Regions from separate parts of the Homo sapiens genome. Here region 2 is linked to region 1. Evidence: promoter capture Hi-C in human tissues and cell types (Jung and others, 2019). All regions are on one chromosome and are shown on one strand. Each heading gives the region's core, a stretch centred on a gene start or on the middle of the fragment in contact. The rest is flanking DNA. Distances are from core to core; before and after follow the strand shown. Region 1 holds the start of TYRO3 (TYRO3 protein tyrosine kinase). Region 2 holds the start of EHD4 (EH domain containing 4).

Region 1 (5,952 bases), core at 1,318-3,817:
GAGAATCGCTTGAACCCATGAGGTGGAGGTTGCAGTCAGCCAAGATCGCACCATTGCACTCCAGCCTGGACGACAAGCGTGAAACTTCATCTAAAAAAAAAAAAGAAGAAGAAGAAGAAGAAAGAGAGGAAGAGGAAGAAGCAGAGAAGAATAGGAGGAGGAGGAGGGGAAGGGGAAGTGGAAGGGGAAGGGGAAGAGAGGGAGAGGAAGAAGAAGAAGAAAGAAGGAAGAAGAAGGAAGAAGGAAGAAGAACATAATTGCCAGAGAGCTCAGTGAAACAGAGACAGAGGAGACGGAAGTGAGCCACACACTCTGTGTCCTCGCCTCACCAGGAAACTACTAAAGTTCCTGGGGAAGCAAAGTAGAATTTCATAAGAACAAAATGGATGGAGAGGAGAAAACCTATGGTGGCTGTGAAGGCCCTGATGCCACGTATGTCAAATTGATATCATCTGATGGCCATGAATTTATTGTAAAAAGAGAACATGCATTAACATCAGGCACGATAAAAGCCATGTTGAGTGGCCCAGGCGTTTTATGGGTTTGGCTTTTAAATTTAGGTCTTTGGTCTTAAGTTAATTTTTGTTTATGCTGTGAGGTCAGTTTGCTGAGAACGAAACCAATGAGGTCAATTTTAGAGAGATACCTTCACATGTGCTATCGAAAGTATGCATGTATTTTACCTACAAGGTTCGCTACACTAACAGCTCCATCGAGATTCCTGAATTCCCAATTGCACCTGAAATTGTACTAGAACTGCTGATGGCTGCGAACTTCCTAGATTGTTAAATAAAATAAATTATAATAAACTGTTAACTCTTTTCAGTATGTAATACCTGTAGATCAGTTAGTAACTTTTTCATATATAGCATGTTGCCTGTATGCAGTTTAACTATATAAAGTTCATTGCAAAGCAGATTATCTTGTTTTTTTCATAGCAATCAAAGTTGAAATTTGTTTGCTACATCAACAAATTAAGAACATTTTCACAAACTGAGAAATAAACAAATATGCCAATTAAAAAAAAAAAAAGAAAGAAACAGAGACAGAGATATCTGGCCCCTGCCATCCATGTCTTGACAGTGCCTCATGAGTCTCTCCTCCTGCTGCCGCCTGGGGGCGCCCCCAGCTGGGTCTCAGGCTGCTGCCAGCACTGCTGTTGTTATCATTAGGGTAATTAATAAACAAGCACTGCTGGGGCCAAGTGGAAGAAGAGGCAGGCCCCTGCTGCTCAGGAGAATCCCTGAAAAGATCCAGTGAGCCTGCGGCAACCGGAGCTGAGTGGCTGGTCCCTCCTCTCTACCCAGGACCTCTGGAAGGGGTGTGGGGTGGGCTTCCCCCTGGAGGGAAGGGCAAGGGGAGGAGCACACTTGGTAGGCTTGGTTTGGAACCAGCTCTGCATGTGCCTAACAGGATGTCTGTGGGCAAGGCCACCCTCGTGATTACTGGTTGTGGGGCAGGCTCTGAAGCAATTATTCATTCATTTAACAGGCATCTGCCTATTTATTTATGGAAAGCCTACTGTGTGCAAGGTGGTCTACTAATAATAGCTAATGTTTGACTGGACAGTGTGACGACACAGCCAACTTTCACACCAGGTCCTGGGAAAAGGGGTAGAAGCAGGGGAAGCAACCAGGAAAAATGACAGCCCAAAAAGATACGGGCAATTAGGCTTTGGCCTGTGTAGTGTAGTGGTGGGGATATATATTAGGTAAAACCTGGGGATTACCAAGATCTTGGGAAACTCAGGACCCAAGTTGGAAAACATACGGCAATTGGGGCTGGAGAAAATGGGCATTTTTCAGGTGGGAGGGACTTGGAGATAAAGGCATGGCAATAGGACATGAATATGGGGATTTTGGGTGAATGGCTCAATGAAAGGGAGGCACGAAGGGATGCTAGCCGATCCTGTTGGGGGAGCCCCGGGTCACGGCAGTTTCGGGGAGCCAGATGGATGGGAGTGTCTAGGGGTTGAGGTGCTCTAAGTCCTGAGAGGGGGATGCTGGATTCTGGGATCAGAGTCCGAACAAGAGTTGGGGTGTGGTGGGGGCTGACAGCGGGGTTTTGAGGGAAGGCTCTGGAGGGCTGGGTTAGAAAAGATGCCGGAGCGGGTTTAGGGAAAGGAGGGGCGTGGCCGGGGAGCCCATCCTGGAGGCCAAGCCGGATCCTCAGGTTTGGCCAGGGGGCGGCTGGGGCCGGCGTGCCGGCGGGGCGCCGGCGGGGCCGCGGGGGTTTGCGGCGCTGGCTGGGATTCGCGCTCCGAGCCAGTCGCCGGGGCTCCGCGGGGGGGCGGTGCGAGCTCGGGCTGCGGGCGGGCCGGGAGGAGGCGGCGGCTCCGAGAAGAACATGAATCAGCGGCGGCGACGGCGGCGACGGCAGTGGAAGGAGCGCGGTGGCGCGGGAGCGGCCCCGGGGACCCCGCGCTGCTGACGGCGGCGACCGCGGCCGGAGGCGGGCGCGGGTCTCGGAGGCGGTCGCCTCAGCACCGCCCCACGGGCGGCCCCAGCCCCTCCCGCAGCCCTCCTCCCTCCCGCTCCCTTCCCGCCGCCTCCTCCCCGCCCTCCTCCCTCCTCGCTCGCGGGCCGGGCCCGGCATGGTGCGGCGTCGCCGCCGATGGCGCTGAGGCGGAGCATGGGGCGGCCGGGGCTCCCGCCGCTGCCGCTGCCGCCGCCACCGCGGCTCGGGCTGCTGCTGGCGGCTCTGGCTTCTCTGCTGCTCCCGGAGTCCGCCGCCGCAGGTAGGGGCTGGCACGGGAGGCGGCGGGAAGCGGGGGGCTGCGGAGGGGCGCGGCCGGGGGTCGGAGCCCGGGGCGGGCCTGGCGGGCTGGAGTCGGGGTGGGGGTCCGGAGCCGAAGGCCGAGGCTCGGAGCCGGGACAGGGCACGCTGCGGAGTGCTCGCCGCCAGATCTCCGGCCGGGCCCCCACCCCCAACTTTCTGGCGCTCGGGGCTCTTCTGGCGGGGTGGAAGAGAAGGGAGCGGGGTGTGGGCTGTGTGGTCAGCGGGGAGTGTTTGGGACTGCATTTTCCCGCCTCGATGTTCCCAGCTGTTAGCTCCCTCCTTCCCAGTACTGGGGACCCCATTCTGCCTGCCCCGCACGCGAAGGTCCGCCTCGGAAACCACACGGGCCGGGGCTGGGCACCCAAAGGCCACCCTGATACCATTTAGGTACACAGGGGCTGTGAGGGTGCCCAGTCACAAAAAACAAATGGGCACACTCGAGTTCCTGTGCCCTCAGAGCTTCCTGAAAGCAGAACCTTGGAGAGGATGGGCTGGTGCCAGGTTGCTGGTCTTTGGGAGGGGTTAGTCTTGTGTTCCCACATAGCCACTGAGGCATTTGCTGGTGACAAGAGCGTTCCATGCAGCACGGTGCTCTCCAAGTTCCCACCCCGCACCTCGGGGACTGATGGGCATATAGGGAGCGGGAGGCTGGCCCCCATCCTGTGACTGGTCCTGAGAGGGTGAAGGGAGCAGGGAAGAGCCACAGGCCAGGACAGCGGCCACCCGCTGGCATCTTCTCTTGAGACAGCATTCCTTGCCATATCAGCCTCTCAGGGAAGGGAAGGGAAACGGGGTGACGAGTATTTACAAGCCGAAAGGTGCGGACCTGATGCTCAGGGAGCCCACGACTTTGCCTAGAGTCACACAGCAAAGGGTGAGAAGAAGCAGGGCTGGATTTCAGTTATGTGGATACTTGACCTGCCCCTCTCTCTGCTTAAAAACATGCCAGGAGGCCAGGAGAGGTGCGTGTATGTGTGTGTGTGTGTGTGTGTGTGTGTGTGTGTGTGCGCGCGCGCGCGCGCGCTCGCACGCAAGTTCCAAAGAGTGGCCCCTGTTAATGTGGCAGTGGCTCAGGGGTCTTAGGCTCCCTGCTCAGGGCCCCAGCCCTCCCTTCTGCCTCCCACCTTCCTAGCACTCGCCCCTGCCCACATTCAGGTATTAATAGAGTGGATGGCTGCCAGGAAGGCTGCCATGTGTTTGATCTGACGTGGTTTTGCAGCCATATGTTCTCCACTTCAGGGGAGCACCCCCTCCTTTCCTTCTTCAGCCCTGCTCCATTTGGTAAGGTTGGGTGCAGAGGGTGCTGGCAGCAATTCAGGGTCTGGGCTGACACCTTGGGTGGAGAGCTGGCAGCCTGTTGCACTAGTTGGGTGCAGCAGTCATTCCTAGAGCAGTGCCTGCCCCAGTAGGGTAACTCCCATCGTTTCAGCCCAGCCTGCCTTCCTTTTGCTGTCTGGGCTCAGAAGGAGGACATGGGGAAGAGGTCCTTAGAGCCGGAGGGAACTTGGAGAGCTTGCCATGCCCCTTCCCTTCGCCCAGGTCCAGCGACCTTCCCTTCCACACTGTCCTACCTCTGCTTCCTTGACTTTGGCTGAGAAAGAGCCCTCTGTCTGACACAGAAGCTACCTTCTAGAAGAGAATGGGAACTGTTTACAGAGACAGAGTCCCTCTCAAGGCTGACACATGTTCCTTCCCACCCCTCAGGTCTGAAGCTCATGGGAGCCCCGGTGAAGCTGACAGTGTCTCAGGGGCAGCCGGTGAAGCTCAACTGCAGTGTGGAGGGGATGGAGGAGCCTGACATCCAGTGGGTGAAGGATGGGGCTGTGGTCCAGAACTTGGACCAGTTGTACATCCCAGTCAGCGAGCAGCACTGGATCGGCTTCCTCAGGTGCAGGCCTGTGGGGGAAGGTGTGGGCTGCCAGCCAGGGGGCAGGCTATGCTCTTTCCTTGGGGATTGGGAGCTGGGGCCCTCTCCTGATGCCCAGAGGTCTGTGGTTTTTTTATTTGGCTACCTGTGGGACCTTCCAGAAGTGGGGGCAGGCTGAACTCATCAAGTTTGCCCAGCAGAGCTGCCGCCCTTGCCCTCGGAAGCAAGCCTCGTATCCTGTTTCCACAGCCTGAAGTCAGTGGAGCGCTCTGACGCCGGCCGGTACTGGTGCCAGGTGGAGGATGGGGGTGAAACCGAGATCTCCCAGCCAGTGTGGCTCACGGTAGAAGGTGAGGAGGCAGAGCCATATGGGCGTGTTGGCCTGGAGCACGTGCTGTCTGCTGGTGACTATACCTCTGCAGCGGAGAACTCAGTAGAAGCTGGGCTGCCCCACTGCTCTGTGGGGCCTGGTTGTCCAGGCTGTAGGCCCACTCCAGATGTCGGAAGACCCTACCAGTTGGAGTTGGGTATCTGAGAACCAAGGGACCAACTGGGATCCACAACCTGTGGGGTGCAGTCTGTTTCCGTTGCTTGAGCAACAAGCTTCAAGCATCCATCTGGGACTGGACCCTGTTCTGCCAAGTGGCCTGGCCAGCAGGGGGAGGGGAGGAAGGCTCTGCAGCTGCGGGAGCTCAGAGCTGTTCAGCCCAGGAAAACAAAGTGACTAAGAAAGTAACAAAGGGCCCTGAATGGGAGCTGGGGCCTGGCAGCAGAACTCTGCTAAAGCTCTCACCCACTCCCCTGAGTTTTATGCCCCTCTCCCAGCTCTCCACCCCCAGTCTCCTCTCTTACTGCAAGAAGAGCTGTCCAAATCTGCCATGCCTAAGGGGGCAGCATGGAAGATGTGTCTAAGGTGCCAGGCATGGTGGCGTGTGCCTGTAGTCCCAGCTACTCCGGAGGCTAAGGCCAGAGGATCACTTGAGCCCCCAGGAGTTCCAGGCCAGCCTGGGCAACATAGAGAGACCTCCCCGCGACCAATCTCAAAAAAAAAAAAAAAAAAAAAAAATTCCTAAGGAGCCTGAAAAAGAGAAGCACCGCCTACCTCTCAAGCTAGATGCCTGTTCTGCTGTTGACCTAATCATAAGGGGCCTGTGGGAACCTTCTGCGTGGAGGACTTCAGATGTAAACAGACTTGTGATTTGTACAGTAGGAAGCCAAGAGGTGGCAGGGCTCACTCCTCACTCCCCTTCTCTCCTAGGTGTGCCATTTTTCACAGTGGAGCCAAAAGATCTGGCAGTGCCACCCAA
Region 2 (5,952 bases), core at 2,042-4,541, 410 kb after region 1:
ATGGGGCGCGGTGGCTCACGCCTGTAATCCCAGCACTTTGGGAGGCCAAGGCGGGCAAATCACCTGAGGTCGGGAGTTTGAGACCAGCCTGACCAACATGGAAAAACCCCATCTCTACTAAAAATACAAAATTAGCCAGGCGTGGTGGCACATGCCTGTAATCCCAGCTACTCGGGAGGCTGAGACAGAAGAATTGCTTGAACCCGGGAGGGGGAGGTTGCGGTGAGCCGAGATCATGCCATGGCACTCCAGCCTGGGCAACAACAGCGAAACTGTCTCAAAAAAAAAAAATTGTGTAGTTTGCATTCATTTCAAATGGACTTCATACTTTTTCAGTGGAAATGTCTTCCTTCACAGCACCTGGGGCCAGGGATTTTCTGGAGGAATCTTTGAAATCTGTTTTCCTCAAGTTTTGGACACAAGCCTGGGTGAGCTCCATATCCATCCTTCCTCGGCTAGTACAGAGTCTAAGATGACATGGTCACTTTCCCCCATGCCCATCTCCCCTCCTTCTCTGGCCAATTCTTTATTGCCAGTCAAAGGCAGAAGAGCCAACAGCAATAAGAGAAGATTCCCACCATGTCAGCACAGGTTCTGTGTCATCAGTGACCTCTTGGAATGTGCAGGAAGCCAGGGAGATAAGAATCTATGGCTATGTAGATTAGGTACACCCCACAGCCAAGTATGAGCTTCTAGGGCCCAATCGCTAGAAGCAAACAACCCAGACCACTAACCAGGCTCTAACTAAGGCAGGATCCAGGATGCTCAGCACCCTGGGCCAACCCTTCCGCTCAAGATGAATCCATGGTTCATTTACAGTGTCTGGGGTGATATTTAATTCCAAGTTCACAAGTCTCCAGGGTAGCTGCCCTTTTGTTTGGGGATTTCCTCCCGGGTGCTAAATCACTTCCTCCTAGCTCCAATCTGAAAAGCAATTCAGGTCTCCTGTGGCCTCACCAAGCTTCCTGCCCACACTGATTTTCTTCTAACCTCACTGGTCTACCTTGTGTACATCACCTAACAACAAAGCCACTTAGCTCAAGGAAAGCCTCAAGAACAAATGGCTTCCTAATAAGGTGATTCCTCCCTCACCCTAGGGTGGCCCACAGCTCCAGCACCTGCTGAGAGGTGGCCAATTTGGATGAGGTAGCTGCCAGGAATCAAATCTCAGAACCCTTCATAAAACTGCGCTTAGCTATTCCACAAATTTCTCCAAATAATGAAACAGAGAGAAGAGTGAGAATATAATGAGAGAGAAATCTGGAAAAATACAAAAGATAAATTCATGTTCCTGTGAGTTGTATTCATCTTCCTGGGAGTTGATAATCAGGCTGGCTAGCTATCCAGTCTATGGGAGCAGAGAGAGGGCTGCATTATCTCCAGGTTGGCACAGCATCTAGCAGGGGCTCCCTGATGACACCTGGGCACAACAAGGACCTCACAGCAAAGACAAACAGGAGGAAATGCCTAGGGTGTGGGGACATGCCACCACTAAATTACAAAAATATATGCCTTTCTTCTTTGTATGTTTCAACAGTACCGCTTCCCACTCTTGTACCACTTGGCCATAACACTTTATTATCCCTAGTACCTAAAAACTAGACAGTATTACTGAGACCTTAAATGTGACATTTGTCATCTTTCAAGGTGCCAGTTACTGTAATACAGCTATGGTTCATTTTGAGTGTCTGGGTGACGGTGACATATTTAATTCTATTTTTGTCTTGTCCATAAGCACCAAATAAAGCAATTTTGAAATTACTTTCTTCACACTCAATTTATTATCTAGAACGACATTTCAATACACAGTATATTTGTTTTGTGGAATTCATTCGCAGTGTATCTGGAGGCCTGGATTTAACATATTTCCTGTAGTGATAGCTACTCTATTTGTAGGAACTATTTAGGTCACTGGAGTGGAGAAAAAGAGGTCGCTACTTAACAGAAATGGCATGTATCCAAATATAGATGCAGTTTTCTCAACACCTGTTGCACATCAAATGATGAAGAGATTGTTACAATTTCCAAAACCCTGGACCAAAACCTTAAATGATCAGCACTTTGTTTCAACTGATACACGGCTTAAGTCAGAAAAATAAGTTCTTCTTACCAAAAACAGTGAGCCTAAATATGCTGGCTGCTTTAGAAATAAAACAGGTGATCAACAAAGCAATCTGTTTCTGTCTAAATAATTTCCCAGCAAAAGTCACTTCTTTTGAAACTATATGATTTGAACCACAGGGTATGCACAGTGATTGTGTGCTTTCAGAAACACGGTAAGCATGACAAATATTTTCAGTTGTCAAGGGTAAGCGAGGAGGGAATGACCCACCTAAGAAATGGAAACTAACAAATAGTAATATGACACTCCCCCTTAGTTCCACAGGCTGGTGCGGCTGCTACACGCAGCTCACTTCCTACGGGCGGCTAAAGGCGGTGCATGAACTGAACGTAGGCGGCCTCTTTATCCCCTCCCCACAACACTGTGGGGTGGCACGTAAAGACCTCAAGGGAAGGGGGCCTGGGCGATACGCTCTCCTGCTGCCATTCATTTGTTCAAGAAATAGTTGAACAAATGAATAGTTAAACAAACTCTCCAACTAGGACTCTGTCCCATTCGGATACCCTACGCCTCTCCCCCCATTTCCATCCCTAGGCATCACTCCCTCGTCAAGAATATGCTGATTATGGCTCGCGCCCCCTCTCTCCCTTGGACCCTCCCGCCAGGGCGACCGGACGAGGCCAGCGGGAGCAACGCCTTCCGAACCGCAAGGAAGGAGGGCTCGGAGTGCGCAGGGCGCGGGTTCGCGGGACCCTCCAGCGCGCGGGGCTGGCCAGCCGGGGCGGGGCCGAGGGCACCGGGCGCCGAGCTCCGGGAGGGGTCCCCGAGGTCGCGCCGGCCGGGAGGGGCAGCGGCGGGAGGCGGCCGACTGCGGCGCACACGTGGGGAGGGCGGAGCGGGGCGGGAGCCGGGCGAGGGGCGGTGACGGTACCTGATGAAGGTGGTCTTGCCGGTGCTGTACTGGCCCACCAGCAGGATCATGGGCTTGTTCTCGAAGTCGGCGTCCTCCAGCGCAGGCGAGTGGAACTCGTGGAAGCGGTACGCCTCCTCCAGCGGCAGCACCTTGCGCAGGTAGAGCGAGCGCAGCCCGCCCGTCACCGTCTGCACCGCGTCCGCGCCGCCAGCGCGTTCGCGCCCGCCCGCCTGCCGCCCCATCCAGCTGAACATCCTGCCGCCAGTCCACGCTCGGATGGGACCCTGCTCCGGGTTCGACTCTCCCCGGCTCGCACTGAGCCGCCCCGGCCGCGCTGGCCGCCGCCCGAGGAGGGCCCCGCCTTGTGCTGCCACAGCCAGTCTTCGGCCGCTACGTCACGCGCGCTCGCCCACTATTCAGACGAGCTCTCTCAGGTCCTTCCTGATTGGATCTCTGCCAGAGAGGGCTGAAGGCGTCAGCCAATTGAGAGGAGGTTCTTAATGAATTATTGATGACGGAGTCATTCTAGAGGACTGGGCGGGGAGATGGTGTCTTCCCGGCCGGGTGGCACTGACCGGTCATGCTCAGGGCCCCCTTCTGGTTGCCGGTGCCTCACCTCTGGCCAGGTGGCATCGGCTTCCGGGTAAATCTGAGCTGCCCAAAGCGAGCCTCCGGAGGCTGCTCCATCTCCTGGAACGTTTACTCATTCAGGCCTCTGGACGTCGATACTGGGGATGAAAAGTTCAGAAAGTGGACAGGCAGGTTCTGTCTTCCCGGGGGCGGGTGGTTATGACTCCGTTTTACAGGCCAAGAGACCCAGGCTCACGGGCATAATTGACACAATCTTGAGGGGAAGTGGACTGGAATCTATTTGAGTAGCCGTTTCTCCTACTTCTCCACATTGCCCTCACTAAATTCTGGATCAGCTAAAGGCTTTTTCCCCTTAGTTTTCTTTATGTGTTTTTCTGTAAAGCCGAAAATTTAGTCATTACTCTCATTATTACATTATCCTCATTATTACAACTTTATTTCCACATATTGACATGTGAGTCATTGTCACCTCCTAGCTGTTTTTTGTTGTTGTTGTTGTTTTCTGAGACGGAGTCTCGCTCTGTCGCCCAGGCTGGAGTGCAGTGGCACGATCTCGGCTCACTGCAACCTCCGCTTCCCGGGTTCAAGCAATTTTCCTGTCTCAGCCTCCTGAGTAGCTGGGACTACAGGCGCTCACCACCATGCCCAGCTAATTTTTGTATTTTTAGTAGAGATGGGGTTTCACCATATTGGTAAGGCTGGTCTTGAACTCCTGACCTCAGATGATCCGCCTGCCTTGGCCTCCCAAAGTATTGGGATTATAGGCGTGAGCCACCGCCCCTGGCCTGTTTCTTTTCTAGGTTAAAAGGATACTCACTTATCTAAGTTGAGATTGGGGGAAATAATCACCTTTTGTGTCCTTGATTGTAGCTTAGGAATATTTCTTAGTTGTTTTAGAGCATTTCTCAAGTGTGATCCATGGGGCCACCTGCATATATGCATTTATGAGCTGGGATGCTTGTTAAAATGCAGATTCCTGGTCTTCAGTCCAGACCTACTGAGTTAAAATATTGAGGAGAGATGGAGCTCAACAGATGCCCTAGGTGACTCTGATGTGGCCTAAGTCTGGGGAAACAGTACACCCTGCAGTACTTCTCCAACCTAACAGAAATGCGGATTCTGATTCGGTAGGTATGGGATGGGGCCCATGACTCTACATTTCTAACAGGCTCTCGGGTATTGCCAATGCTACCCATCCCTGGACCATACTTGGAGTATGAGAGAACAGGACTTTGCATCAAAAGATCTGGGTTTGAACCTTGACTATGTAAATTAATGGCTGTGTGATTTTAAATGTGATGAGTTACCTCTCTGCCCTAGTTTCCTTAAGAGCAAAATGGAAACTCCTTTGGAGTTGTTGTGTGGGTCACATAGTTGGAGGGAATTGTATGTAACTAGGGAAGTGAAAAGAAAGCCAAGGGAAAATAAAGTTAGACATCTGCCTTGTGTCAAAATAAAACAAAGATTGAAATGTAAAAAGAAAATGAAACCACTGCACTACTAGAAGAAGGTACAAGAGATTTATACAATTTGGCGGTGGAAAAGCCTTTCTAACCAACATTAAGGACAGAAATTATGAAAGCAAAGGCTGACATATTTGACAACAAAAGTAAAAGCTTCGATGTATTTTTTTAGAATACATAAAAACAAACGGATATAAATACAATCTTACCATATGATGCAGAAATCAGCTCCTTAGTATTTACCCAAATGAATTGAAAACTTATATCCACAGAAAAGCCTGTACATGGATGTTCATAGTGGCTTTATTCATAAGTGCCAAAAATTGGAAGCAACTAACATGTCCTTCAGTAAGTGAAAGGATAATCTGTGGTACATCCAGACAATGGAATCTTATTCAGCACTAAAAAGAAATGAGCTATCAAGCCATAAAAAGACACAGAGGAAACTTAAATGCCTATTACTAAGTGAAAGAAGCCAATCCGAAAATGCTATGTACTGTACGATTTCATCTTTATGACATTCTGGAGAAGGCAAAATTATGGAGGAAGTAAAAAGGTCAGTAGTTTCTAGGTGTTAGGGAGAAGGAAGGAATGAACAGGCAGAGAACAGAGGATTTTTATGGCAGTGGCTCTACTTTTTATGGTACTATAATGATGGATACATGTCATTATATATTTGTCAAAACCCACAGAATGTACAACACCAAGAGTGAATGTAAGTGATAATGACTCGTGAATTTCAGATCAGTTTTAGGTTCACAGCAAAATGGAGCATAAAGTACCGAGAGTTCCCATATACCCCCACCCTCCCCGACACACAGCCTCCCCCACTATCAACATCCTGAACCAATGGAACATTCGTTACAATCAATAAACCTAACCTAAATAGATACATCACTAAATTAACTTAAAATGGAACTAGA

What was found. Contacts are between HindIII fragments. The study calls those that stand out against the background at their distance.
Region 2: a contact is called between the fragment with the promoter of EHD4 here and the fragment with the promoter of TYRO3 in region 1, in 1 of the 25 tissues and cell types used here (IMR-90 fibroblasts).

What each region holds. Positions count from the first base shown.
Region 1 is chr15:41,556,645-41,562,596 of GRCh38, forward strand. It overlaps TYRO3 (TYRO3 protein tyrosine kinase), which reads left to right and starts at 2,568. Exons shown (of 19, transcript NM_006293.4): 1 at 2,568-2,737; 2 at 4,483-4,666; 3 at 4,895-4,995; 4 at 5,904-5,952. The coding sequence starts at 2,614. It also overlaps the pseudogene ELOCP2. RefSeq lists enhancers at 1,987-2,488, 3,055-3,696, 5,729-5,952 and silencers at 2,217-2,306, 2,252-2,418, 2,357-2,496, 2,507-2,676, 2,983-3,183. The HindIII fragment of the contact is 10,010 bases long and covers 1-5,952 here.
Region 2 is chr15:41,969,266-41,975,217 of GRCh38, forward strand. EHD4 (EH domain containing 4) reads right to left here and starts at 3,292. Exons shown (of 6, transcript NM_139265.4): 1 at 2,994-3,292. The coding sequence starts at 3,229. PLA2G4E-AS1 (PLA2G4E antisense RNA 1) reads left to right here and starts at 3,498. Exons shown (of 4, transcript NR_120334.1): 1 at 3,498-3,733; 2 at 4,539-4,693. RefSeq lists an enhancer at 752-971 and silencers at 2,734-3,003, 3,104-3,173, 3,214-3,343. The HindIII fragment of the contact is 6,706 bases long and covers 1-5,912 here.